Linked DNA regions of Homo sapiens: all the other regions are linked to region 1. Evidence: promoter capture Hi-C in 16 types of primary human blood cells and fetal thymus (Javierre and others, 2016). All regions are on one chromosome and are shown on one strand. The core of a region is centred on a gene start or on the middle of the fragment in contact, and the rest is flanking DNA. Distances in the headings are between cores, read along the strand shown. Region 1 holds the start of DCTN4 (dynactin subunit 4). Region 2 overlaps GM2A (ganglioside GM2 activator). Region 3 holds the start of CCDC69 (coiled-coil domain containing 69). Region 4 overlaps CCDC69 (coiled-coil domain containing 69). Region 5 has its middle 4.1 kb from the start of ANXA6. Region 6 overlaps TCOF1 (treacle ribosome biogenesis factor 1). Region 7 overlaps ANXA6 (annexin A6).

Region 1 (3,477 bases), core at 530-3,029:
AGTTGTTGCTCAAATAATCTCCAGGAACATAAAATACAATATTGCTAACTAACCTCTGCACTGACTCATCAAAAAAGGCAAAATACAAGTCATTCCTTTTTGCCCCCTTTCCAAATTCTGCTTGTCCGTTCATGTGCAGCTCCAGACCCAGATTCTCCATTAGAACTTCACTGCCTGCCCCAGCCCTCAGAGCTTCATCTTTCCCTAAACTCTAATGGCCTCCATATCACAGGTACACATCAGGCTGTAAAAGATGCTGTCACAGACTGGATGTCCTAATTGAAGAGAGTCTTAGAGACAGATCATGGAGACTGAGCACTCTATTCACCACAGGAGAATATGATCCAATAAATTCTGGAGGTGGAGCTGGAATAGGGAATCATCAAGGAGATACACATAAGGAAAGTGCTAATGGAGATGAGAAGAAAAATCGATGCCATATTTTTAATATATACGATTTTTCTTGTATTATTTAATTGCTTTTCTTGACTATTCCTATTATGAAAAGTATCTTCAATAAAATAAGTTATTAATAACACATAAAATGGCTTATAGTATGTGTTTTCATATGCATTTATTTTAACAGTCCCGGGATCTTCAGTAAAAAACACTCTGAGTTAGGCTGTTTAGATTCAAATCCAGGTCCTCCTTCCCACCCCCAAATTACTGGCTGTGTGACTTACAGCGAACACTCTGTATCTGTTTCTTTACCTGTAAAAAAAATTTTTTAAAAAAAGTATCCACTTAAATTGGTTTGAAGATTACATAAAGCACATGACATATAGCAAGTATCGAATAAGCAGCAACTATTACTACTATCAGCTTTTTCTTCACTAAGACTATGGCTTATTAAACAGCGCATTTTATGTCTTACTCGCCTTTTAATCCCTAAAGCTTACTGAATAAACAAGATGTGCCAAGCGCTGCAGAAGTTTTGGGGTTTTGTTATTTGGTGACTTTTTACTGGCCGGGGTCTTCTTTTTGAAAAATCCAACTTCGGACGCCCACTTGTGCCAGGGAAGGACAGCATTGTCCTCTAGCTCCATAAATACACTTTCAGCTTCTTACATGACATACTGTATTCTGAGCGCTTTTCACATAACTCACGCCGCCCCAACCTCTTCCCGGCTGCAGGCCTTGGCCTGAGTCAGGAACAGGGCAAGGCAGTCTGACGAGGGCCCAGTTTCTGGACAAAAGAGGAACAGAACTTTCAGGATGGGAGAACTATGAATGAGAACGCCTGCGCCTCCCTCCATCCTCGCAATAAATCCTGGAAAGGCAGTTTTTCGCCCCTTAAGTGGCCTGAACTAAGCACCCCCAGACCTTTCTCCGTAGTCCACCCAATTACCAAGCCCCATCGCAGACAGACACGGTCCCTAAGTCAAGTTTGTCCAATCAGAGGCCGCTCTAGAACCAGAAGATCCGCTCAGTCCCACCCGAGGCTGCTCCTCCTTTCCAAGTGACAGATTAGAAGCAAATTAAATCGCAGGCAAACCCGAGTGACGGAAGACATAACCAATCAGTAAGGAAGGAAAATAGCTCCAGCCTTCCGGTGGCAGTGACTAGCATGAACGCCGCGCCCCCCCCACCCCACATACTCGCTATAGGGCGACTCTGTTACCTCGTGAGACACACATTCCAGCGACCGCAGTTCGCTACAATAGCGGCAGAAGTAGAGTTGCGAGAGCGGGGCCCGAACCTTCTTTTCTCCCTGGACTAGATAGAGAACCCGGTCCGACTGCAGCAAGGACGCCATCTTGGGGAGGGAGGAGGCGATGACGCTCCCGGCGCATCACGTGACCCGAGAGCCAGCGTCTTCCTCGCTGCCTTCCCTACGACTTCCTACGTAGACTTTGACGTTAGGTTTCCCACCTCGTCCGGCTCTGCGCCCGTCGAAAACCAGAGCGCGCGTGCGCAGCTGGGATCCCTGTTTTCTCCCCAACTCTGGGCCCGTCCCCCAGCGCTTTTGTGAGCGTCCACTGCCCTTACTGCCATTAGGTCTGGACTCAGTGAGCTCCTTTTATTCTTTTCTTCCAGAATGGAAGCCTGATCTTTTGTCTTATTTACGACGGCCTCCTCTGCCCCACTTAACAGGCGAGCATCCAGGAGACAAATGGAAGGTCTCAAAGGGACAGGGCTCCGTGGGGACTGCAAGACAGGAGTCACACCAGCACTGTCTTCTGAGTCTTGCCAATGGCCTTTGGGAACTTTCACATACATTATCTCATTTGAAACGCAGGTTTTTGAGTACATAGTTAGCGTTAGGTCTAAGTCTGTATTGTGGACCTTCAATAAGTATGAAAAGGAGGGAATGAAATCAATGAATGAACAATGTTGGTAGGCGTCTACGTTTTTCTAATGTGTAAACTAAGGCTCAGGTCTGCCTCTTGGGTGAGCAGCGACTACGTGAGACTGGTATTACATGGGTGGGAAAATAATTTATCAACAGTTTTAGGTAAAGAAATGCAGATTTATTAGAGAAGGTATGAAAATACGTTGAAAGGTTGCAATGGGCAGACCAGCCAGAGAGGAGCTGACTTCAAGGAAACAAAGGCTTGCTGGAGATTTTATCCGATGGTTCTTGGGCTGCAGAGTGCTGTGCAGTACCGAGAACTCCAAGGTTACAGGGAGCTAACTTGCATGTGTCTCGTGATAGCTGAGTGCAGGAAGATTGTGAGTTATTTGCACAGGAGGGCTACGTGTCCTGCACCATGAAGAAAGGCAGACTTAGAGTGCATCTGCTCTTCTTGCTATCCCTTGGTCCCACTAGCCTGACTCCCTTTCTCTAACTGGGACTCCCCAGTATGTAAAATGACCACCTAGAACTGCCTAGCAGAAACTGGAGCCTCTGTTGCCTGCCACCAGGTCTACATTTTTATAATTGTAGTAGTGTTGTATTATTACCTGTCTGACGTTAGAGTTGGTGATTGAGAAGAAAGGGAACTGAATACTATTAGCAAACATTTATTGAGCACTTATTAAGTGCAGCACACTGTGTCAAAACTTTACATACATTGTCTAATTTAATTCTTACAACAGCTCCAAAAAGCATGTGGCTATCATTATTTCTATTTTACAGAGCAGGAAACTGAGGCACAGGGAAGTGCAGTGACTCCTCTATAAGGTTTCATAGATGGAGGTAGAACCCTTTTCTCTCTGACTCTAGTGCTTGCAGGTATAACCCCTATGTATACTCCCTCCAGCATATTTTCTAATATGGTGATGTTAATAATACCTTACATTTATATAGACCTTTTCAGCTTATACAGTGCTAATCTCACAATTTATGTCACGCTTTACCAATTGAGCCTAAAAGTCATTACTTGTTCACCAAGCAATAGCCTGGCACTAATTTAGTTTCATAGGTGACATCTGCTCCTAGGAGAGAATATATTACTAGCCAACTCATTTGCAATTATTTCTTTAGGTTAATGAATTCGTTGGTTTTCTGGTTTATAAACTAGTCTCTACTGAGTT
Region 2 (3,477 bases), core at 688-3,187, 500 kb after region 1:
AGAGTGGGATTTCAGATGCTGTTAGATTTCCCATTGTGTTTTGTGTTTCCCATTGTTCCTGGCTCTGGGTTGGGCACGGGGTGTGACATGAACAAGGTCCTGGGTGTGGGCTGCAGAGGTGAATCCTCCAGGAGCTTGCCCTCTGCTGGGATTCCAAGGCTGGCTGGAGAGGAGTGGGCAGCAGGGAGGTGGGAAGTCAGAGAAGGTGCCCACCAAAGGCCAATTAGGTCAGTCTCCTGTTTGGAAGTTCCAGGTCTATCATATCCTGCCTTATAGTTTACAATACACTTTTGGGAGATTATGTCTTTTGAGTCTTTTAGTTTAGTCCTGCCTATAAAATGAGTAGGATAAGTGTTATCCCAGCTTCATAGGTATGGAGTCTCATAGATGAGGCTCAGGGACGGGGGTGCCTCACCCAAGGTCACTCTGCCAGGAGCTCATTTTTCCTGTGATCTGTGATAGTTTCTTTTGTCAACCTTTTTCTTCTTCTCCTTCCTTGCTGCCTGATTGTCCCCAGCCATCCCAGCTCAGTAGCTTTTCCTGGGATAACTGTGATGAAGGGAAGGACCCTGCGGTGATCAGAAGCCTGACTCTGGAGCCTGACCCCATCATCGTTCCTGGAAATGTGACCCTCAGTGTCATGGGCAGCACCAGTGTCCCCCTGAGTTCTCCTCTGAAGGTGAGCCTGGGGGTGGGTGGAGAAGGGGAGGTGCGAGGGTCTGGCCAGCAGGGGTACTGGGGCATGTATGCTTGGGGAACTGTGAAGAATTTCAGAATCCTGGATTCCCAGAGAATAGTACAGGACATGTAGATTCAGACACTCTTTCACAGGTTCATGGAATCTCAGGATCATAAGATTGAAAGGAATCTCTGATGTCAGCGCCAGCAACTTCCTGGTGAGGGCAGGAGTGACGGATACCTTGCACCTGGCAGAAGCGTCCTGGCCTTCTCTGGGCCTGGTGGCCAACTGCTCATTATTGTCTGACAGCTCTGGTTGGCCAATTTGGTTTTGTTGTTAATTATAAAATTGATATACCAATTAGCCAGTAATATATAGTCACTTTAGAAAACACAAGTGGTCAAAAAATAAATAAAATAGGCCAGGTGTGGTGGCTCATGCCTGTAATCCCAACACTTTGGGAGGCTGAGGTGGGTGGATCTTTTGAGGTCAGGAGTTTGAGACCAGCCTGGCCAACATAGTGAAACCCCATCTCTACTAAAAGTACAAAAATTAGCTGGGCGTGGTGGCATGTGCCTGTAATCCTAGCTACTCAGGAGGCTGAGGTAGGAGAATTGCTGGAACCCAAGAGGCAGAGGTTGCAGAAAGCCAGGATCGCACCACTGCACTCCAGCCTGGGTGACAGAGTGAAACTCTGTCCCAAAATAAATAAATAAATAAAATAAATCACTTGAAATCTCACTACCTAGTGATAAGGGATAAGCACTTTTAACATCTTATAGGATATTCTTTGCAACTTTCCCCCATACAATTACATACATAACACACATATTTATTTTTAATGGATATGTATGATAATAGGCAGTGCTCATTGTAAATGTCCTCCAGTAATCTAAATCCTAGAGATAGTCAGTGTTTGCTCTTTATATATCCCATCAGAATTTTTATGTGTTTGTAAATATATACACACTTATACTCATGGGATTATATGATATGTGCTATTATACTTGCTATTTTTTTTGCCTCATACTATATGTCCATATCTTTCCAAGGATTAGGTGGCTCTACTTATTCAATTTTTTTTTATCCAATCATTATTTTATTATTTTAATGTATTGTAATTTTAGAGACAGTGTGTCACTCTGTTGCTCAGGCTGGAGTGCAGTAGTGTGATCATGGCTTACTGCAGCCTTGACCTCCTGGGCTTAAGGGATCCTCCCACCTCAGCCTCCTGAGTAGCTGGGACCACAGGTTCATGTCACCATGCTTACCTAATTTTTTTATTTTTTATGGAGACGGAGCCTCCCTGTGTTGCCCAGGCTGGTCTCAAACTCCTGAGTTCAAGCAATCCTCCTGCCTCAGACTCTCAAAATGTTGGGATTATAGGCGTGAGCCACCTTGCTCAGCCCACCCAATCATTTTTAATGGCAGAAATATTCTGATGTGGATCTTTCATAATTTATATAACAAGTCTATTGTTGAACATTTAGTTTGTTTCCAGGGTAGTTTTTATTTGTTTGTTTGTTTATTTGTTTGTTTTGAGACAGGTTCTTACTCTGTTGCCTAGGCTGGAGTGCAGTAGCGCAATCTCAGCTCCCTGCAACCTCCACTTCCCGGGTTCAAGCGATTCTCCTGTCTCAGCCTCCCAAAGTGCTGGGATTACAGGCACCTGCCATTGCGCCCCACTAATTTTTGTATTTTTAGTAGAGATGGGGTTTCACCATGTTGGCCAGGCTGGTCTTGAACTCCTGACCTCAGGCAATGTGCCTGCCTCGGCCTCCCAAAGTGCTGGGATTACAGACACCTGCCACCATGCCCAGCTACTTTTTGTATTTTTAGTAGAGATGGGGTTTCACCATGTTATCCAGGCTGGTCTTGAACTCCTGACCTCAGGCAATCCACCTGCCTCAGCCTCCCAAAGTGCTGGGATTATAGGCTTGAGCCACTGTACCTGGCCAGAGGGTTTTTTTTGTTTGTTTGTTTTTTGTTTTGCTGTAGTAACCACCTTTGTAGAAATTATTCTTATAGTACATCTTTTTATAATTTTCTGATTCTCTAGATACACACTTTTTAGGTCTTTTGATACATTTTGCCAAAGTGCCTCCCAATGTTTGAATAAACCTGCATCATTCCTAGTGAGCGTAGATGTCTATTCATAAGTTTATTTGCCTTTTGTATTTACTTTGGGAATAACCTGTTTGTTTCCATCCATTGACTATTTTAGGGGTGTATGTTTTTATATTTTCTTAGAAAACAATGAAGACTTTTCATATATCCATTGCAACACCATTTAATATGGTCCTTTCCTCTCTAGCTAAAATTGCTACCTTTATATGATGCTCCTCTATGCCCTTCAGTCTGTTCCTGATCCAGATCTATTCTAGTACCAGTTTTGTGTTAATTATTTAGAAGATTCCTGATTTGGATTCTGTGTTTCTATCATTATCCTTAGACCTGTCTTAATCACAGCTCCTACGTTATGGGCTTTCCTTGAGCAATACCTGAGTTAGAAAATCATGTGGAAAGTGCTTTGCACAGGGCCTGGCACCCAGGACATGCTCAGTACATTTTATATCTTGTGAACATTTCGATTAGTATCTGTCTTATCCTGCAGTCTCTTGACCCAGACACAAGTCCTGGATATGTGGCAGCTTTCAGCTCCCCTGCACCTCCTACCAAGCCTTTTCCTAGCAGAGTCATTGTGTTTCCATTACTGTTCCTCAAGTGATAGGGGGTCAAGCCCTGTACCCTTGGATCTGGGCCAAGGGATGGAATCATTCCCTATGTATGGACACTGG
Region 3 (3,477 bases), core at 296-2,795, 470 kb after region 1:
GAAACTGAGACCCAGGGAGACACAAGGGCTTGCTTGGGGTCACCCAGTATGTTTATGGCACCACCAGGACTTACACCCAGGGCTAATGTCTGCCTACCACTTGCTCAGTTACAAGTCTCAGCCAAGGCTCAGGTCTCTCCGCCTTGTCATCCCTGTCAGCCAGCCCCTTCCTTCTACTGATAGAGCCAAGCCTCAGTTTCCCTGTTGGAGTGAGTAAAGACATGAGGGTTTCTAGGTCAGGAGTTGGTGAGAATTTCAATCTGGTAATAAAGGGAGAGCAAGGAAAGCCAGGAGGTGTCAGAGAAGGGAGTAGAATCCTCCAGGCTAGGACTACTGTTAGGCAGAAAAACCTGTACTCAGGGCACAAGCAAAGCAGGAGCAGAGGGAGGACTAAAGTTCATTGCAAAACTATTAAACACTGTCACAGTTTGGGGCCTCTCAAGGTCTCAAGGGGGAATGATGATAAAGTTTAAGGGATCACCTAGTCCCACCTGGCTAGGGGGCAGGTAGTGGTAAGAAAAGGGGCCAGAATTTGAGGGTCCTTCTTCCCCTCTGCCTCACAGTGTCCCCTGAGGAGGCTATCTTTCTAGCTCCAGGCTCTGACCTTCTGGGCTCGTCAGACCCCAAGGGGCAGCTGGTCTCACTGCAAGAAACCTGAGAATTGTCCCCTGGGCCCTGACCCAGCTCCAAGGCCCCTTGGGGGAAGGACAGGAAGGGAGGAGAGGGCCACAGAACGCAGTAGATCTCCTCCCTCTTTGGCCCCTCCCAGCTACCCCAAGGGCAGCCCACACTCACCAGCTCTGGGGCCTGCAAGAGCCCTAAGACCAGCGCCTCAAACTTTAAAGCGTCATCACCTGGGCATATTGTTAAAAGGCAGCTTCTGTCTTGGCAAGACTGGGCCTGAGCCTGAGATTCTGCATTTCTGACAGGTCCCCAGGGATGCTGATACTGCGAGTCTGTGGAACACTCTTCGAGCAGCCCTGAGATTATCAGCCTTTAACCCCCGGGGGGAGGAAGCCGAAGGCCCAGAGAGGTCAAGTCACTTGTCCATGGCCACACAGCGAACAGCCCCAGACCGAAAGCAGAGGGCACCTGCCACAGACACACGACATCTCCCCACCCGAGGCAGCGGGAATCAGCTGCCTTTCCCTGGCCCGGGTGCCGTGTTTGTAAACTCGGCTGCTTGGTGCGGCTCGGGCCGGGGTAAAGGGCGCCTCCCAGCAGAGCCTCCCTCGTCTCTGAGCTGGCCTCTCCAGGTTCTCCGTCCGGTATCCCGGGCCGACCAGAGAGAGCCCGGGGCGCCGAGTCCTCTGCGGCGGAGCGATTCCGCACTCCCCTCTCCTCTGAAAGCAAACTTCTCCGCCGGCGCCCTTTACCTTTTTCGGGGGTTTGCAGCTGCTCAGCCTGCTGTGTCTGCAGCCCATCCTCCTCCGGGGGCTCCCGGACGCCGCTTCCCAACTCCGGGGCCCCCAGAGGAGCCTGCGATCCGGGCCCCGCTGCCCGCTCCGCGCCCGCCGGCTGGGGCTGCCGGCGAGACCCTGAAACTGAACCTGGAAGCGCTGTCTTGAGCCTGAGCTGGGGCGGCCGCCCGCCGTAAATACCCGAAGAGCGGGGCCTCAGTGTAGCCCGCAGGGCCAGCGGCGCCGCCACCAGAGGCAGGTGACCAGAATCCTTCTAAATAATAGGAAGCTCTGGTCAGGGCAGAAGAAAAGAAAACCTCAAGGAGCAACAGATGCTTTTCCGAACCCTCAGCTAAGAAAGGGCCGGGGGAAAAAATAATTAAAGCAATTATTTGATAAACTAACAACTATCATTCATTGAGGGCTGTTTTTGTCCCAGTTGTTTTATACATTTTATTTCTATTTCTTGCCATATCAGTGCAACAAAGGTATTACTTCCTCCATTTTACAGGTGAGGAAAATGGTGTTCAGAGATGCAACATGATTTGCCTAAGGTCACATGGCTAGTAAGTTACCACAGCCCAGATAGAATCCAGTTCCTTTTTTTTTTTTTTTTTTGCCGCTATCATAGTTCACTGCAGCCTCAAACTCCTGGGCTCAAGCGAGCCTCCCAGCTCAGCCTCCTGAGTAGCTGGGACTACAGAGGCTCACCACCATACCCAACCAAATTCTTTTCTTTTTTCCAGTCTGATTTTGAACGACCGCCCTCAAGCGATCCTCCCACCCTGGCCTCCCAAAGCGTTGGGATTACAGGCATGAGCCACTGCACAGAATACAGTTCTAACTCCAGAACCTAAACTTTGACTCAATGGCCTACAAATAAATCATAATACTAAGTTTATTGTATTTATTTATTTTTGAGACAGAGTCTCGCTCTATTGCCCAGGCTAGAGTGCAGTGGCACGATCTTGGCTCACTGCAACCTCTGCCTCCCAGGTTCAAGTGATTCTCCTGCCTCAGCCTCCCCAGTAGCTGGGATTACAGGCATGCACCACGACACCCAACTAATTTTTGTATTTTTAGTAGAGACAGAGTTTCACCATTTTGACCAGGCTGATCTCAAACTCCCAACCTCAGGTAATCCGCCCGCTTCGGCCTCCCAAAGTCCTGGGATCCCACACCTGGCCAATAATACTAAGTTTAATTTTAATGCCTCCTCACTTCTGGGCTGATAGTTTTTTCCACCTCACAAGCATCTGTAATATTTGACTCTATCCATCTTGGATAGATGTTATTCATCACAACAACCTCTTGAGGCAGGCCAGGTATGGTGACTATGGGACATAAAATGTCAGTGTCTAGGAAAAGGAGCTTTTGTTTATCTTCTCTTTGTTATTAGCTGAGGTTTCTGAAATGGCAATGCAGGAAAAAGATAACCAATTTTGAAAATCAGTGTGTATGCCTATTTGCGTGTATATTGGAATATTAAAGTCAGGCCCAAAACTCTTGGAAAGGTGTGCTGTGAAAACGGCTTAGAGTCATGAATGGGGAAAGAATATGAGACCTCAAAAAAATTGCTCCCTCCATAGGGTACAAAACCAATTGCAAAAGTGTGTAAGAAAGGAAACTAAGGAAACGTGTTATTAGGTTCTCAAAAGCAAGTATAATAGAGAATGGTGGCTCACAAAGTGTGATTCCCAAATCAGCAGTGTCAGCACTACCAGCCGCCTTTGTTGGAAATGCAAATTCTCGGGCCCCACCCCTGGCCTAAACTCTGGGGATGGGGCTTAGGAATCTATGGCTTCATAAGCACTCCACTCATGTCTGGCCTGGGCTAAAGTTTGAGAACCCCTGCCATAGGACGTGCTCCACAGGTACTGAAGAAACAGGATATACTTAAATTATACTAAAATTAACAATGTTTATTGGAACAGTGCTCATGATTAAAAACAAAGAACCCAAAACAACCTAAACAGCCAAGAAAAGAAGGTTGGTTAAATACATTATGCTATATCCATAAAAATAGAATGCCACATAACCAGCAAAAATACTGATGAAGATGAATTTTTTGTGTTAC
Region 4 (3,477 bases), core at 676-3,175, 420 kb after region 1:
AAGGGTAAAGGATCATTCTCCCACTTGTCAGAAGAGGAAACTGAGACCCAAGAAGGGGAAAGGAGCATACAGACGGTCAGGAGACACTGGCTTGGCTTTACCAGGATTTCCCCAACATGTTCTTTAGAAGGGTGGAATACCAGAAAGTTCCCTCCCACCCTACCTCACTTCCTCTTATAACCATTACCTGTCTTGGAGATTCAAAATACACAGGTACATGTAACAGACTCAGTGGTCGGAGTCTACCCAATTTCACTTTGCTTTTCTTAATGTTTCCAAAACACTTTTGGTAGTAAAATTCTTCCTCTTCCTCTCCTTTGAGGAGGTAGCATCCCTACAGAAGCAGAGGGCCACAAAACCCACGTTGGGAAGTACTTCCCTGGACTGAGTTACCTCTGGACACTCTTTGAGAAGGGGAGGGAAACCCAGCTTTTCTCTGCAGACTTGAGAAGCTTAACGTTTTTCACAAAGAACCTGGCCTTTAAGGTGCTCTGACACCAAGCTGAAGTGTGACCTTGGGCAAGTCACTTCTCCTTTCCCCAAAGAGATAAATGGTGCCTCTTACCTGACCCTGGTGTGTGAGTCAGAGATGCACCTGGGGCAGCTGATGGACAGTCCGTTTTTATCCCCTACCGTTGGGCCAACCACTCTACATCAGTGAACAGGCCCATGTGGTACACGGGGAGAGCCAGGTACAGCAGGAGGCAGAGGGCACCCTGTATGTGGAGGGGACCTGGGCTAGGGATGCTGGTGTCTACACCTGCTGGGCCACCAACCTTCAGGGCACTGGTTTGGCCACCACCCATGTCCACGTGACTCGAGGTCCTCGTGTCTCCTCTACCCCTTCCTAGCTCCCTCCCTGGCCACAGGCATCTGGATGTGGAGCAATAGGCAGAATCAGGGGTAGGTACCTGTGGGAACATCAGTGTTTCTGATGCCAAAGAGGGGTCCTGCAGTGCAGAAGGTGACTTCTCATTCATCCTCGCAGTCTCTCCCACCCCATCCCTCTGTTTTCACCACTTACTTCAACCTCAGCCTCACTCCAAGCCTTGGTCTATTTTGAAGGCCATCCTTTAATCCAGGCTTCACCCTAGCCCCAGGCCCCACATCCACAATTAGGGCAAAGCAAGGGCCAGTGGGGCTTTGGTGCTTGAGGAGAGTGCCCAGAACCACGAGTGGGCTACCCAGGCCCCAGATTTACTCTTCAGAGATCCCCACCATTGGCAGAAGTCCTTGTGAAGACCCACCTCCCCACCCTCCCAGAAAAACACAAAAGTCACATAAATAAGGTGCCGCATGTTCTTTTTAGTTTCCATACATCGTCTGTCCCAGAGTGAGGAGAAGTTGATCTCCTTCCCACATCCACCACAGGCTGCGTGAGGGAAGCCTGGCTCCCCACAACTTGCTCCTTCTCCAGCCCTGCCCCTCTCAATTAAAACAATGCTTTCTTTTTTCTTTTCTTTTTTTTGAGACGGAGTCTTGCTCTGTCACCCGGGCTGGAGTGCAGTGGCGCGATCTTGGCTCACTGCAAGCTCCGCCTCCTGGGTTCACACCATTCTCCAGCCTCAGCCTCCCAAGCTGCTGGGACTACAGGCGCCCACCACCACGCCAAGCTAATTTTTTGTATTTTTTTAGTAGAGACAGGGTTTCACTGTGTTAGCCAGGATGGTCTCAATCTCCCAACCTTGTGATCCACCCACCTCGGCCTCCCAAAGTGCTGGGATTACAGGCGTGAGCCACTGTGCCTGGACTAAAACAATGCTTTCTAAAGCGCATTCTGCAGCCTGATGTGCCTGTGAGGTGAGAGGTGTGGGAGGGACAGAAGCTTTGTTCAAAGAGGTTTGGGAGAGGCTGGATACTTAGCTCCCTTCTTGTAAGTTTGCCACACACATTGGCATATTAAAGGTTCTGAGAAGTCATTCAGGTCACTGATCTGTTTAGGTGTCCCCAAATAACTTGGCCACCAATCATGTCTACTCCTGGACATTAGTTCAATAAACTAGTGTATCGCAGATGTGCTTTGCAAAAAGCTTCATGAAAAAGTACACATGTGATTCCCTCCAGGGCTTTCCTCGAGGCTCCTGGGTGACCTGTCTGACCATGGCTGGAGAATCAGCACAGCACTCCCCTAGCCTCACCTCTTCCCCCATTTGGCTGTGGAAATGGAGAAACACAGTCACCTCTGAACTTCTAAACCTAGAAACAGAAGGAGACTGTACACAGGGGAATACAGAAGGCAGTCTGGGATGATGTCACTATAGAATGACTGATGAAAAATGCAGATTGACTGTTCTGACGCTGGCTTAGGGCCTGGGGCTGAAGCTGGGGACCTTGAGCAAGGCCCTTTGACTCCTGTGATCTGTTTGCCATGTTGCCAATGAGGAATAGGAACCTGCTTCAAGGATCTTATGAGGACCAGGGGAGGGAGGGGTATGGAAAGCCTTTGATGCAAATGCTCTATGCAGAACAGGAGTTATAATTATAGTCTCCATTAGACATGAAGCTTCCTGAGAAGGATCCGAAATCCACAGACTATCAGGACTGGACGGCCTGCTGAGGTTAGTTACTCTAGCCACCCCTTTTCACTGATGGGGAAGCTGAGCACCAGGTTGTAAAAGCCTGGGCCTGGGATCAGGGGCAGTGGGAGGAGGAGTTAAGGCAGGGAGCAGGAATGAAAAAGAAACTAAGTGGGTGAGGGCCAGGGAGAGGAAGATTAAGTCACAGATCTGATTTTCCAGAGCCTGAAGAGAAAAACAGAGCAAAGGATAAGACCCGGATGACAGATGAGATCTAGATTCGACTCTGGGAACTGCTCCATGCCTTGGTTTCCTCATCTGTGCAGGGATGAGGTTCCAGCTCTGATAGATGAATGGACTCACAACCACCAAGCTTGCCCCTGTGCCCAGGTGGCACCAAGACTGAAGGGCCAGGAGGGCTGAGGGGATGCACCTTGCCTGGTAAAGGAAGAGGAGCTCTGGCTACTGTCCCTTGGTGGACACGACTCTGGCCCAGGAATGATGCCTCAGCTGGGGAGGCTGCCTGGCCCTGTCAGCCCCAAGGGCCTTCAGAGACCCCCTCTCTACCACTCACCTTCCCCACTCTGATTTGCGGGGTTTGTCCACACTCCCCCCAACCCCTACTCTGGCCTTCAGACAATCCTAGAATGGGACACTGCAGTGACATAAGAGTCCTTTGACCAGTCCCCCCACCATTTTAATGCAGGGGTAAACTGAGGCTCTGAGCAGGCCAGGGTGGAGTGGAAACACCTAGAGGAAGTTGATAAGTCAGCAAGTCGGCAGCAGAGCTGACAAGCTGGGACCAGGGGCTGTCTCCTTTATGTCAAATGGCCAGCGTGACACAGACTGCCCCTGGGAAAGCCTCGGAACTTCTCGGATTGGGACAGAGTGCTGGGGCAGGGAGGAAATGTCTCCTCTTGCTTATTCCCTTGGCCAACTCAAGGGAAGACGCTTCTCGGGG
Region 5 (3,477 bases), core at 663-3,162, 400 kb after region 1:
TACTGGAGAGGCTGAGGTGGGATGATCCCTTGAAGCTGGAAGGTAGAGGCTGCAGTGAGCCGTGATTGCACCACTGCACTCCAGCCTGGGCGACAGAGTGAGAACTTGTCTCAAAAAAACAAAAGTACAAAAAACTTGTGCTCTAGTCATTATGAAATGGCATCTATAATTGTGTTTTTGATTTGCATTTCCCTTCTGACTAATGATGTGGAGTATCTTTTTTGTGTGCTCATTGGCCACTATTTGTACATCTTCTTTGGAAAAATATCTAATCATGCTTTTTGCTCATTTTTAAATTGGATTTTTTGTCTTTTTTGTTGTTAAGTTATATGAGTTCTTTTTATATTCTGGATAAGACTTTTGTGTTTGTTTGAGACAGAGGCTCGTTCTGTTGCCCAGGCTGGAGTGCAGTGGTGCCATGTCGGCTCACTGCAACCTTCACCTCGTGGGTTCAAGCAATTCTTTCCGCCTCAGCCTCCCAAATAGCTGGGATTACAGGCACCTGCTACCATGCCCAGTTAATTTTTGTATTTTTTTAGTAGAGACGGGGATTCATCATGTTGGCCAGGTTGGTCTTGAACTCCTGACCTCAGGTGATCCACCTGCCTTGGCCTCCCAAAGTGCTGGGATTACAGGTGTGAGCCACCGCACCTGGCCAAGACATATTTTTTAAAGGGTCACTGAAGTCTCCTGTGTTGGAAATACTGAATACTGTTGGGGGAAGAGTAGAAGAAGGGGATCTGCTAGGAGATTTTGCAGTAATCCAGGCAAGAGACAGGCTGGTATAAATGCAGGTGGGGGAAGTGGTTGGAGATGGGATGTATTTGAAGGTTGAACATGATTTCCGAAGGATCAGGTGGGAGATGAGAAAGAGTCAAGAATGGCTTCAGGGATCCTGGCCTGAGCCACTGGAAGGATGGAGTTACCATCAACTGAAATGAGCAAGACTGCAGGGAAAGCAATTTTGGGAATTAGAAGTGGGGAAAAGATCAGGAGTTCAGTTTTTGACCAGTTTGTTGAACATTTCTATTAGACACCCAACAGGAGATGTCAAGTACGCAGTTGGCTAGTCAAGTCTGGAGTTCAAGAGATGAGATCCTTAAGGGAGAAGAGAACTAAATATGGAGTCCTAGTTCGGCAAAAGGAGTCAGGCTGGCAGGACCAAGGGAAAGCAAAAAGAGAAAGCAGATAAGCTATAAGTCTGCCTTTCTTCATGGCCCAGGATGCATAGCCCTCCTGTGCGAATAACTCACAATCTTATCTGCGCCCAGCTATTGCCAGACCCTCACCTGATAGAAAAATGCACGCAAGCTCCCTGCACCCTTGATGTTATCAGTACTGCACAAAGCCCTCTTCAGCACACAGCACAAGCACCATCCTATAAAATCCTTAGCCAGATTTTGTTTTCTTGCAGTTAGCTTCTGTTTTGCTAACTTGCCCGTTGCACCCTTGCAACGTATTTTCTTTTCTTTTCTGTTTTTCTTTTGAGATGAAGTCTCACTCTGTCGCCCAGACTGTAGTGCAGTGGCACTATCTCGACTCACCACAACCTCCGCCTCCCGGGTTCAAGCGATTCTTCTGCCTTAGGCTCCTGAGTAGCTGGGATTACAGGTGCGTGCCACCACACCTGGCTAATATTTGTATTTTTAGTAGAGATGGGTTTTCACCATGTTGATCAGGCTGGTCTCAAACTCCTGACCTCGTGATCCACCTCGGCTTCCCAAAGTGCTGGGATTATAGGCATGAGCCACCACGTCTGGCAGCAATGTATTTTCATACTTTCTCTAATAAATCTGCCTTTCTTTACCTACAACTGCCTTGGTAAATTCTTCTTACTGCCTGTACCGCCAGCCCCAAATAGTTGCTGATCACCCACGATGCTAAGGACCGAGTCTGAGACACTCTTATGTTACCATTTGGGGAGAGGCCGGACCCGGTGGCTCATGCCTGTAATTCCAGCACTTTGGGAGGCTGAGGTGGGTGGATCACTTGAGGCCAGGAGTTCAAGACCAGCCTGACCAACATAGTTAAACCCCATCTCTACTAAAAATACAAAAAGTTAGCTGGACGTGGTGGTGCATGCTGTAATCCCAGCTACTTGGGAGGCTGAGGCAGGAGAATCACTCCCAGGAGGTGGAGATTGCAGTGAGATGGCACCATTGCACTCCAGCCTGAGAGACAGAGTGAGACTCTCAAAAAATAAAATAAAAGAGTTGGGGAGAAGAAAAGAATTCAGCAAAGGTGACTGGGAAGGAGATTGTAGTAAGATGGGAGGAAACTACCCCAGGAGAATGTGGCAGCAAAGTGAAAAATAAGGGAGTGATCAGGTGTGTCAAATGCTGCTTTTAGGTAAAGTAGGACAAGGTCTACAAATCTATCATTGGGTTTAGCAATGTGAAAGCCAACTTATCTCTTGCTGTGAATTGCAGAATGTTGGGGGTAAAGGCCTGATGGGAACGGTGTAAGATAAAAAGCCTAAACTACTTATTCTGGGAGTTTTGCTGCGAAGGCCAGCAAGGGAATGAGGCAGTGTCTGGCAAGGGAATTGGTGTCAAGAGAAGGGCTTTTGTTTGATTTTTTTAAAGATTGAAGACATAACAGCATATTTGTATGCTGGTGGGAGTTATCATATAGAAGGTAAAAAAATTGATGGAGGAGAGAGAAGGGAGAATTCCTGCAGCAATGTTTGGAGACAGAATGGGCTGTAGTGTACAAATGTCAGGGCTATTTGTATTCTTAATTTGCAATAAAAGTAACTGAAATTTTTGATCTTTGCCCAAATTCAGCCCACGTGACTGAGGCAGGATTGAAAGCCAGATTCCCTTGACTGCAGAGCCCAGGGCCTTAATTCCTGAGCTACAGCAGCAAGTAGGAGTAAACACTAATATACTGCTCATTCTCTTTGAGCTAATCATCACTTACAGGAATCAATCCTAAGAAAATAATCTAAAATACAGAGGAAGCTGTAGGCCCAACACTGTTTTATTGTTGTTGTTGGAGACAGGGTCTCACTCTGTCACTCAGGCTGGACTGCAGTGGTGTGATCATGGCTCAACTGCAGCCTTGACCTCCCCAGGATCAGGTGATCCCCTCACCTCAGCCTCCCAAGTAGCTGAGACTACAGGTGTATGCCACCTGCCCAGCTAATTTTTGTATTTTTTGTAGAGATGGCGTGTCACCATCTTGCCTAGGCTGGTCTCCTATGCTCAAGCCATCCTCCTGCCTCAGCCTCCCAAAATGCTGGGATTACACCAGCATTGGTATAATGTGAGCCACCATGCCCAACTTTTTTTTTTTCATTCTTTTTTTTTTTTTGAGACAGGGTCTCATTCTGTCCCCCAGGCTGGAGCAGTAGCACAATCTCAGCTCACTTCGGCCTCAACCTCCTGGGCTCAAGCTATCCTGATGCTTCAGCCTACGGAGTAGCTGGGACTACAGGTGTGCACCACCACGTCCAGCTAATTTTTTTCATTTTTT
Region 6 (3,477 bases), core at 430-2,929, 400 kb before region 1:
TGGCTGGAGTGGTCTGGTGGGCAGTTTGATCTTCCTTGGAAGAGCAGTGGTAAACCAATGGAGAGTTTTGAACTGGTGAGACAGTATCCTAAGTAGTCAGATCCCTTTGCCCTGTGGTGTAGGCTCTGCTCCTAATGCTTGCTCTCAGAACCTCCTGGAGGGACTAAAGGGTGATGGGCCCTAAGACGTTATGTATGCTTTTCCCAGTTTCTCTGAACCTCACTTGCTCTTCCTACCGCAGCTATGGTACTTCACAGATAAGGGGAGCAAGAGATAGTACCCATCTTCATTGGAGCAAAATATCCTGCCGTCATGGAGCACACATTCTAGTAGGAGCAGACAGGTGACAAATAGAAAAAGTTTAATAAGTTAATGATATAGTATATCCAATGATAGTTGGTGCTTGCTATAAAAGGCAGGCAAGGGGGATAAGGGATGTCAGACTTCGATTATAAGTAGGGTAGTCAAGGAAGTCTCATTGAGAAGGTGTCATTTGGGCAGAGACCTGAAGGAAATGAGGGAGTGAGCTGTGTAGTTAACAGGGGAGAGAACATTCCAGACAAGAAGAATAGCAAGGCCGCGTTAGAGGCAGGGTGGCCTGACACATTTGAGGACAGCAAGGAGGACACTTTGCCTGAGGTGGAGCAGAGGGAAACTGACTCTTGAAATCTTAGTGTTACCGGCTCACTGCTGGGCACTGACAGATGGTCTTGTTCAAACCAGATAGCAGCCTGCAAGGTAGGTATCGCTGTTGTCCCCATGTTAAGAAGAAATCTGAAGTTCGAAGACGTGACGAGATTAGTTCAGTCCACCCGTGCCCCACATTGCTTAGCCTCATTAGAGTACTTGATATCCTGGCTTATTGACATTTACAGAGACATTGGGCCCTCTGGCCTCTGCTCCAAAGGCCTGGATTCCACCTGGTTCCCTCTGCTTCCACCAAGGGACTGGTACCATTTGGGCCCAGTCTTCTCCCAGCAGACTAGTAGACTGTGGTCATGCCACCTGGATGCCTCAGGTGTCTGGGCTGTGATTCGTGCTTTGGGAAGATTGGCTGGCCACGTCTTTGAAAGCTTTTTTAAAGGTCAAAGGTGGGGAAAACCCTGTCTCATGGCCTCTAGGCATGGATAGTGCCAGAGAGGCTGGGAGCTGGATGAATGCTAGCTTGGAACATTCCACCTCTGGCCTTTCAAAGGGGTTGTCTAAAAAGGTTTTAGTTGGGATTGGTTGTTCTTCTTGTCTCTGGAAGGTTTGGGACAGAACTGGCAGGGCCAAGCAGACATACTTCCCAGAGCAAAAAGACCCTCTTTTTTTTTTTTTTTTTTTTTAAAGAAAGGGTCTTGCTCTGTTGCCCAGGCTGGAGTGCGGTGGCACAAGCATGGCTCACTGCAGCCTCGATATCCTGGGCTCAAGTGATCCTCCCACCTCAGCCTCCTGAGTAGCCGGGACCACCAGTGCATGCCACCATTCTCAGCTAATTTTTAAATTTTTTTATAGAGACAGTCTCACTATGTTGCCCAGACTGGTCTTGAACTCCTGGGCTCAAGTGATCTTCCTGCCTCAGCCTCCCAAAGTGCTGAGATTACAGGTATGAGCCACCATGCCCAGCCAAAAAGACCCTCTTCTGAACCACCTGTCTATACAAGTCATGAGTTTGGGGAGATCTGGGCCCAAGAAGGATCCTTACTGTGCTGGGGATTAATTGTGGCTTTCTCTTTACCTCTCTGCAGAAGTGTTTCCTGGCTCAGCCCGTAACCCTTCTGGACATCTATACACACTGGCAACAGTAAGTGGTGGGGCCTATAGGGTGGAGTAGGGACGGACACCCCAAGCAACTCAGCTTGGAATAAGCTGGGATACCTATCTGGTCTAAGATCTGTCCCCATAGCCCACTGTGGACACCATTGTTGCCTCCAGAAAGCCAGCTCACATCACATGGATGGGTATTTCTGTGTGGATATCTGGTAGTGGGAGGGGACATTGAGAGCTGTGATCTCTTAAGAACAAGAGCTTCTCACCAGCTTGTCAGTTGCTCAGCAAACGTATATTGAGCACCTCCTGAAAGCCAAGTCCTGTTCTTACTTAGTATGCAAATATTGTCACAAGTGAGACAGACATGGTTCCTTCTTTCCTGCAGCTGACATTGTAGCCAAGGAGGTAGGCATAAGTCAAAGAATGAAACAAATGAATGTTAAATTACAGTGGTAGTAAGGATTACAAAAGAGAGGAATCTGTTGCCACAGCCACATAAATGGGTAAGTCTGGCTTCATCTGGGGGTCCAGGGGAAGCTTCCCTGAGGTGATCTTTGACTTGAGAGCTATAGGAATTGGAGGAGTGAACTATGCAGTGGGTAGAGAGTGGCAGGTGGAGTGTACCTGCCAGTGGAAATTGCTAATGCTAAGTCCTGTGGCTGGTGGACAGTACAGATGGGGCTAGGTCATCGCATGGATAGCCATGCATGGGCTGGTTATCCATGGTGAGGAATTTTGTCTTTATCCAAGAGCAGTGGGGCCATGGTAGGGTGAAAAAGTGAGGAGATTGCTCTGCACCATGGTGAGACTGGTGGGGCCATGGTCACCATCGTCCAGGCAAGAGCTGATGGGGCTTGACACAGGGAGAACAGGGTAGAAAGTGGATTCCCAAGAATCATAGGGATGAAACCAGGGCCTGTGGATGGGTGGGAGAGGAAGTATCTTATTGACTCCACATCTAACTTGTGTACCCATGCATAGAGCTTGAAGGGAACTCAGTTTGGAGGGGAAAGATTTCAATGACATGTTGAGTGTGAGATGCCTTTTAAACATGTAAAATTTATGTACTCTTCAAGGAAGGGGGAATCATCCAAGGATATATCAACAGAGGAATGGTTGGAAAATGGAGAGAGTAATTGTGTTCTCTTCATGCACTGGCCTGACCACAGCTGACTAAGGGAGTGAAGGACATGCAGACATATCCCATGAGGAATGGTAGAGAGTACTGAATTGCCTTGGATGGAAAGGAGGCAGGAGAGGGGTGTGAGGGACCACTGCACATCTTTGAGGACCAAGAATAGTGCGTTCTCTGAGGCCCCGGAGACAGAAGTGGGCCCCAAATGTACCTGCTTCAGGAAGACAGGTTTCAGCTTCTGAATATAATGACATCAGAGCTATCTAAAAATGAGGTGGGCTAGGTGGAAGTGGTGGGCTCCCTGTCATTAGAGGTGTGTAAACAAAGGCAAAAATGGTGTGGAAGGGATTACAGCCTCTGGTGGAGAGCTAAGGTCTTTGAAAACCCTGCCAACCCTCAGTCCTCTGCTGCTAAGGAGAGCTTAGAGCACAGGGCACAGCCCACACTTCCTCACCCTGACTTGCCCAGGTGAGTGGGTGTTATTCGTAGTACTTCCTTCCCCCAAAAAACTGCTTCAGTGAGCTACTCTGCACACTCTTCCCTGCCACTGGCCCCTTCTATGGGTGAGGGGGACAAGGACCTCAAACCCA
Region 7 (3,477 bases), core at 446-2,945, 380 kb after region 1:
AAGGACAGTGCCATTTCCCCAAGGGAGGGGGGCTTGGCCAAGGCCTGCAGCCCTGCACCACCTTCCAAAGCATCCAGGAGAGGGTAAAAAAGCCTGGCTGAGTATAGGAGATGAAAATGATCCCTGCAAGAATAGCAAGAGTCAAATATATATATATATATATATATATATATTTTAAGAGATGGGGTCTCACTCTATTGCCCTGGCTAGTTTTGAATGCCTGGCCTCAAGCAGTCCTCCCACATTGGCCTCCCAAAGTGCTGGGATTACAGGCATGAACCAGTGCACCCAGCCAGCCCCTCATATTTTTATGGCATTTTATGTTTACACTTTCACCTCTGTGAATGTCATTAGTGTAGCCATTTGTAGACGCTCTTAAGATTATTTCTATCACAGAAGCCAAGCCCAAAGAAGAGCCACTTGTGGGAGGTCACACAGAACTCAGACCTTTTCCCTCTGCTCTCCAGCCCCGCTCTGCTCTCCAGCTCCAGGAACCTTGCAGGTGCCAGCTACTGAGGGTGGGGTCCTGGGCACAGGGGGCCCAGAGACACTCTCATTTCAATGCCAAGACAAGGCACTGCCCCTCTGGGCCCAGTAAACTGCGCTGTGAACTGGCATCTGAGGACAAGCTGGCTTGGTCTTTGAGGGGAAGGAGAGAAGCGGCAGAGAGCCAGGGGATCTTAGACATCGAACCTGAACCTGAATGCACAATGGGACTGGTTCACAGAGAAGTCAGATGTGGGTCAGTTACATGGCACTGAAAAGTGGGGGGTCTGGGAGAGCAGCTGAGAGCTGGCAGAGTGGAGGATGCCAGAGCCTGTCACCGAGCACACAGCACAGTGACAAGGCACTTCATTTGTGCTAGGCCCTACACTAATGGCTGAGGAATTGGGGAGAAAGGGGACCCAATTCCTGTCTTTCACGAGCTCCTGGCCCAGTGGCAGAGACAGACAAGCACATCAATTACTATAAAGCTTGTAGTAAATACATTAAGACAAAAATAAGGTAATGTGGGAAAACAGCAGAGGCTGATCCAGCTGCGGGAAATCAGGAAAGAATCCAAAAAAGAGGGAATGGAGGGTGGGCCACACAGATCTTGCCTTCAAGGAGTCAGAGGTGGAGCAGAGTGAGTCCTGGACCGCCTCCCCCTCTCCCCGTCTCCGTGCCTCCCAACGTCTGCACTGCAGGACCCCGGCCAGGCCTCTGGATGCTCTCTGGTCTCTGTCTGCAGAGGCTGGCTCCTCTGAGGTATGCATGCGTCGGCGTGGAGTTACTATTTAAAGTTCTGACCAGAAAGGAACACAGCTCTCTTCCTGCCACCTGGGAATCCCCTGCAACCTGATCACGCCCCTGGGCAGAGACTTAAAGAGTAACACATGCCGAATACCCAGAGCAGGGCGCCTTGCAAGGAGCTCAGTGAGCGCAGGATGGGGGCTTTACTGCCAGCGCTCCCCTTGGCCTTACTTCAGACCTCACGGCCGGAGCTTGAGAAATTCCTGCTGCCTTCTCCACCCCGGTGGGCAGTTTGATCCAGAAACCTCTGAGAGCAGATACCAGATCCATCTGCCCACTGCACAGAGATTGACCAAATACTCAAGTATTTGCCACATGAATAAAATGAACAAGAACACGAAACAACTGGGGTCCTCCAGGAATTTCACTTCTAAATCCTTTTCTCTTTCTTTCTGGACACCTCCAGTCCAGCGATATCAAAAAAGCACAGCAGGCAATATTAGCTACTAGGATGGATGGAGAAACAAGAGGTGCCTGGGCACAGTGGCTCATGCCTGTAATCCCAGCACTTTGGGAGGCTAGACGGGAGACCACTTGAGGTAGGGAGTCAGAGACCAGCCTGGCCAATGTAATGAAACCCTGTTTCAGCTAAAAATACAAAAATTAGCCAGGCATGGTGGCAGGCACCTGTAATCTCAGCTACTCAGGAGGCTGGGTCAGGAGAATCACTTGAACCTGGGAGGCAGAGGTTGTAGTGAGCTCAGATCGCATCACTGCATTCCAGCCTGGGCGACAGAATGAGACTGACTCTGTCTCAAAAAAAAAAAAAGGAAACAAGAAGGTTCAGAGGCTCAAAATTATTTCTTTGCAACGATCCTTAAAGACCTTTTAGTTCAGCTTCCCACTCAGTTATTGAGTCCATGGAGAATGGAGACTGTCGTGAATAAGACAAATCATTCTGCCTAAGAAGAACCGTGGAGCCCCAGCTCTAGCACAGGCTTGGCATACAGGCTGGAAGTAACTGTGACTGGGCTAAATGAATGGATGGAGACACCCATGACGGCCCAAGCTCTGAGATGGAGGACGCCGAAGGGGAAGACAGTGAAGGGAGACCTCCCTGGCACTGGATCCCTAGCAATGCTGTCTCCAATGTCAGGACCTCCTGGGACCAGTGTGGAAATATTAAGCTTTGAAAGATGCCACCAGGGGCAGGTCCTCCAGGGTCTGTCCGGGCCCTCTGCAGGCTAGCCTGTTGCCATGATTCATGGCTGTTTTTCCTTCCACCTGTCTGACCAACCTGTCCTAATCCACAGCAGCACCAGTCTCCAATCCACTTCAGTCATAGGATGTCCCTCCCACGGCTCACTTGGAATAAGAGAGGGAAAGGACTTTGAGAACCACAAGCTGAGAACTAAATGAGGAAGGTAGGTCTATTACCACTTGTGTCCCAGAAGACCCAGAACAGAGAGGGCAGGTGACATGTCAAGACCACACAGCAAGTCAGAGGCCCAGCTGGGAAGGGAATCCAAGGCTCTTTCTAACAGACCATCTCTCCCTTCCCCTCAGATTCCATCTGGGTGGGAGCTGGAGATAAGAAGGGACAACCACCACATAGCCCACTGCTTCCTCCTGGTCAACCATGCCAGCCTGCCCCTCTCCTTGAATACTGAAGCATTTGAGTTATTGCCCTGTGCTGTTTGCCTCTATGCCATTTCGACCCTATATTCAAGGCTATAAAAAGGCAGCAATGCTGTCCAATCCACAGCATCCTAAGTGCTTCTCACATTCAGATACTCACAATTCCAGGGCAGCTAGGGCTACCCTACCATTCATTCATTCAATCAAGCAAGCAAGCAACATTTACTGAGAGTCTACTAAGTAGATGCTTAGGACCAGGGACCACTAAGAACTCAGAATCTGGTAGAGATACATGACAGCTTCAACTACAAGACAGTGTGGCAGATACGATGCTAAGGGCAGCATGGGACCCAGGAAATATTTCCTTTCGAAGTTCCGGGAGGGCAGGGACTGTGTCTCTCTTGCTCACTGACGCATTTCTAGCACCAAGTACAGGGCCTGGAGCAATCAAGCACTCACTGAATATGTTTCATAAATGGATGGATGAATGACTGCGAATATATTCCAAGCAGATCAGAGAAGGCTTTCTGGAGGTGACGTCTAAGCTGAGTCCTGAGGGATGAGCAACAGGCTGGCCCCAAGGAGTAGAGTAGGGAGGGGAAGGCG

What was found. Contacts are between HindIII fragments. The CHiCAGO score rates a contact against its expected background, and 5 or more counts as called.
Region 2: a contact is called between a fragment that was not itself captured here and the fragment with the promoter of DCTN4 in region 1, in 2 of 17 cell types (non-activated CD4 T cells and neutrophils). The highest score is 6.9, in non-activated CD4 T cells.
Region 3: a contact is called between the fragment with the promoter of CCDC69 here and the fragment with the promoter of DCTN4 in region 1, in 10 of 17 cell types (fetal thymus, neutrophils, naive CD8 T cells and 7 more). The highest score is 15.8, in fetal thymus.
Region 4: a fragment that was not itself captured here is called in contact with the fragment with the promoter of DCTN4 in region 1 in 1 of 17 cell types (naive CD8 T cells); the score reaches 5.0 in naive CD8 T cells.
Region 5: a contact is called between a fragment that was not itself captured here and the fragment with the promoter of DCTN4 in region 1, in 1 of 17 cell types (fetal thymus). The highest score is 7.5, in fetal thymus.
Region 6: a fragment that was not itself captured here is called in contact with the fragment with the promoter of DCTN4 in region 1 in 3 of 17 cell types (total CD8 T cells, activated CD4 T cells and naive CD8 T cells); the score reaches 5.5 in total CD8 T cells.
Region 7: a contact is called between a fragment that was not itself captured here and the fragment with the promoter of DCTN4 in region 1, in 2 of 17 cell types (naive CD4 T cells and total CD8 T cells). The highest score is 5.7, in naive CD4 T cells.

The regions. Positions count from the first base shown.
Region 1 is chr5:150,757,238-150,760,714 of GRCh38, forward strand. DCTN4 (dynactin subunit 4) reads right to left here and starts at 1,780. Exons shown (of 13, transcript NM_016221.4): 1 at 1,622-1,780. The coding sequence starts at 1,756. RefSeq lists enhancers at 1,056-1,125, 1,556-1,855. The HindIII fragment of the contact is 18,997 bases long and covers 893-3,477 here.
Region 2 is chr5:151,259,238-151,262,714 of GRCh38, forward strand. It overlaps GM2A (ganglioside GM2 activator), which reads left to right. Exons shown (of 4, transcript NM_000405.5): 2 at 518-679. Among named protein-coding and RNA genes, the nearest start is that of GM2A, 7.8 kb to the left of the region's middle. The HindIII fragment of the contact is 6,835 bases long and covers 1-3,477 here.
Region 3 is chr5:151,222,547-151,226,023 of GRCh38, forward strand. It overlaps CCDC69 (coiled-coil domain containing 69), which reads right to left and starts at 1,546. Exons shown (of 9, transcript NM_015621.3): 1 at 1,377-1,546. The coding sequence starts at 1,424. It overlaps LOC105378230 (a long non-coding RNA gene), which reads left to right. Exons shown (of 4, transcript NR_160730.1): 4 at 930-1,804. RefSeq lists enhancers at 969-1,078, 1,099-1,298 and silencers at 1,419-1,498, 2,982-3,276. The HindIII fragment of the contact is 18,522 bases long and covers 1-3,477 here.
Region 4 is chr5:151,179,767-151,183,243 of GRCh38, forward strand. It overlaps CCDC69 (coiled-coil domain containing 69), which reads right to left. Exons shown (of 9, transcript NM_015621.3): 9 at 1,286-3,477. It also overlaps the pseudogene PDGFRL2P. Among named protein-coding and RNA genes, the nearest start is that of ANXA6, 24 kb to the left of the region's middle. The HindIII fragment of the contact is 205 bases long and covers 1,824-2,028 here.
Region 5 is chr5:151,160,167-151,163,643 of GRCh38, forward strand. No RefSeq gene overlaps it. Among named protein-coding and RNA genes, the nearest start is that of ANXA6, 4.1 kb to the left of the region's middle. The HindIII fragment of the contact is 7,646 bases long and covers 1-3,477 here.
Region 6 is chr5:150,359,426-150,362,902 of GRCh38, forward strand. It overlaps TCOF1 (treacle ribosome biogenesis factor 1), which reads left to right. Exons shown (of 27, transcript NM_001371623.1): 2 at 1,731-1,786. Among named protein-coding and RNA genes, the nearest start is that of TCOF1, 3.5 kb to the left of the region's middle. RefSeq lists a silencer at 3,204-3,343. The HindIII fragment of the contact is 1,216 bases long and covers 1,072-2,287 here.
Region 7 is chr5:151,140,433-151,143,909 of GRCh38, forward strand. The region is part of intron 2 of ANXA6 (annexin A6); the gene reads right to left. Among named protein-coding and RNA genes, the nearest start is that of ANXA6, 16 kb to the right of the region's middle. RefSeq lists enhancers at 1,080-1,159, 1,180-1,389. The HindIII fragment of the contact is 1,446 bases long and covers 973-2,418 here.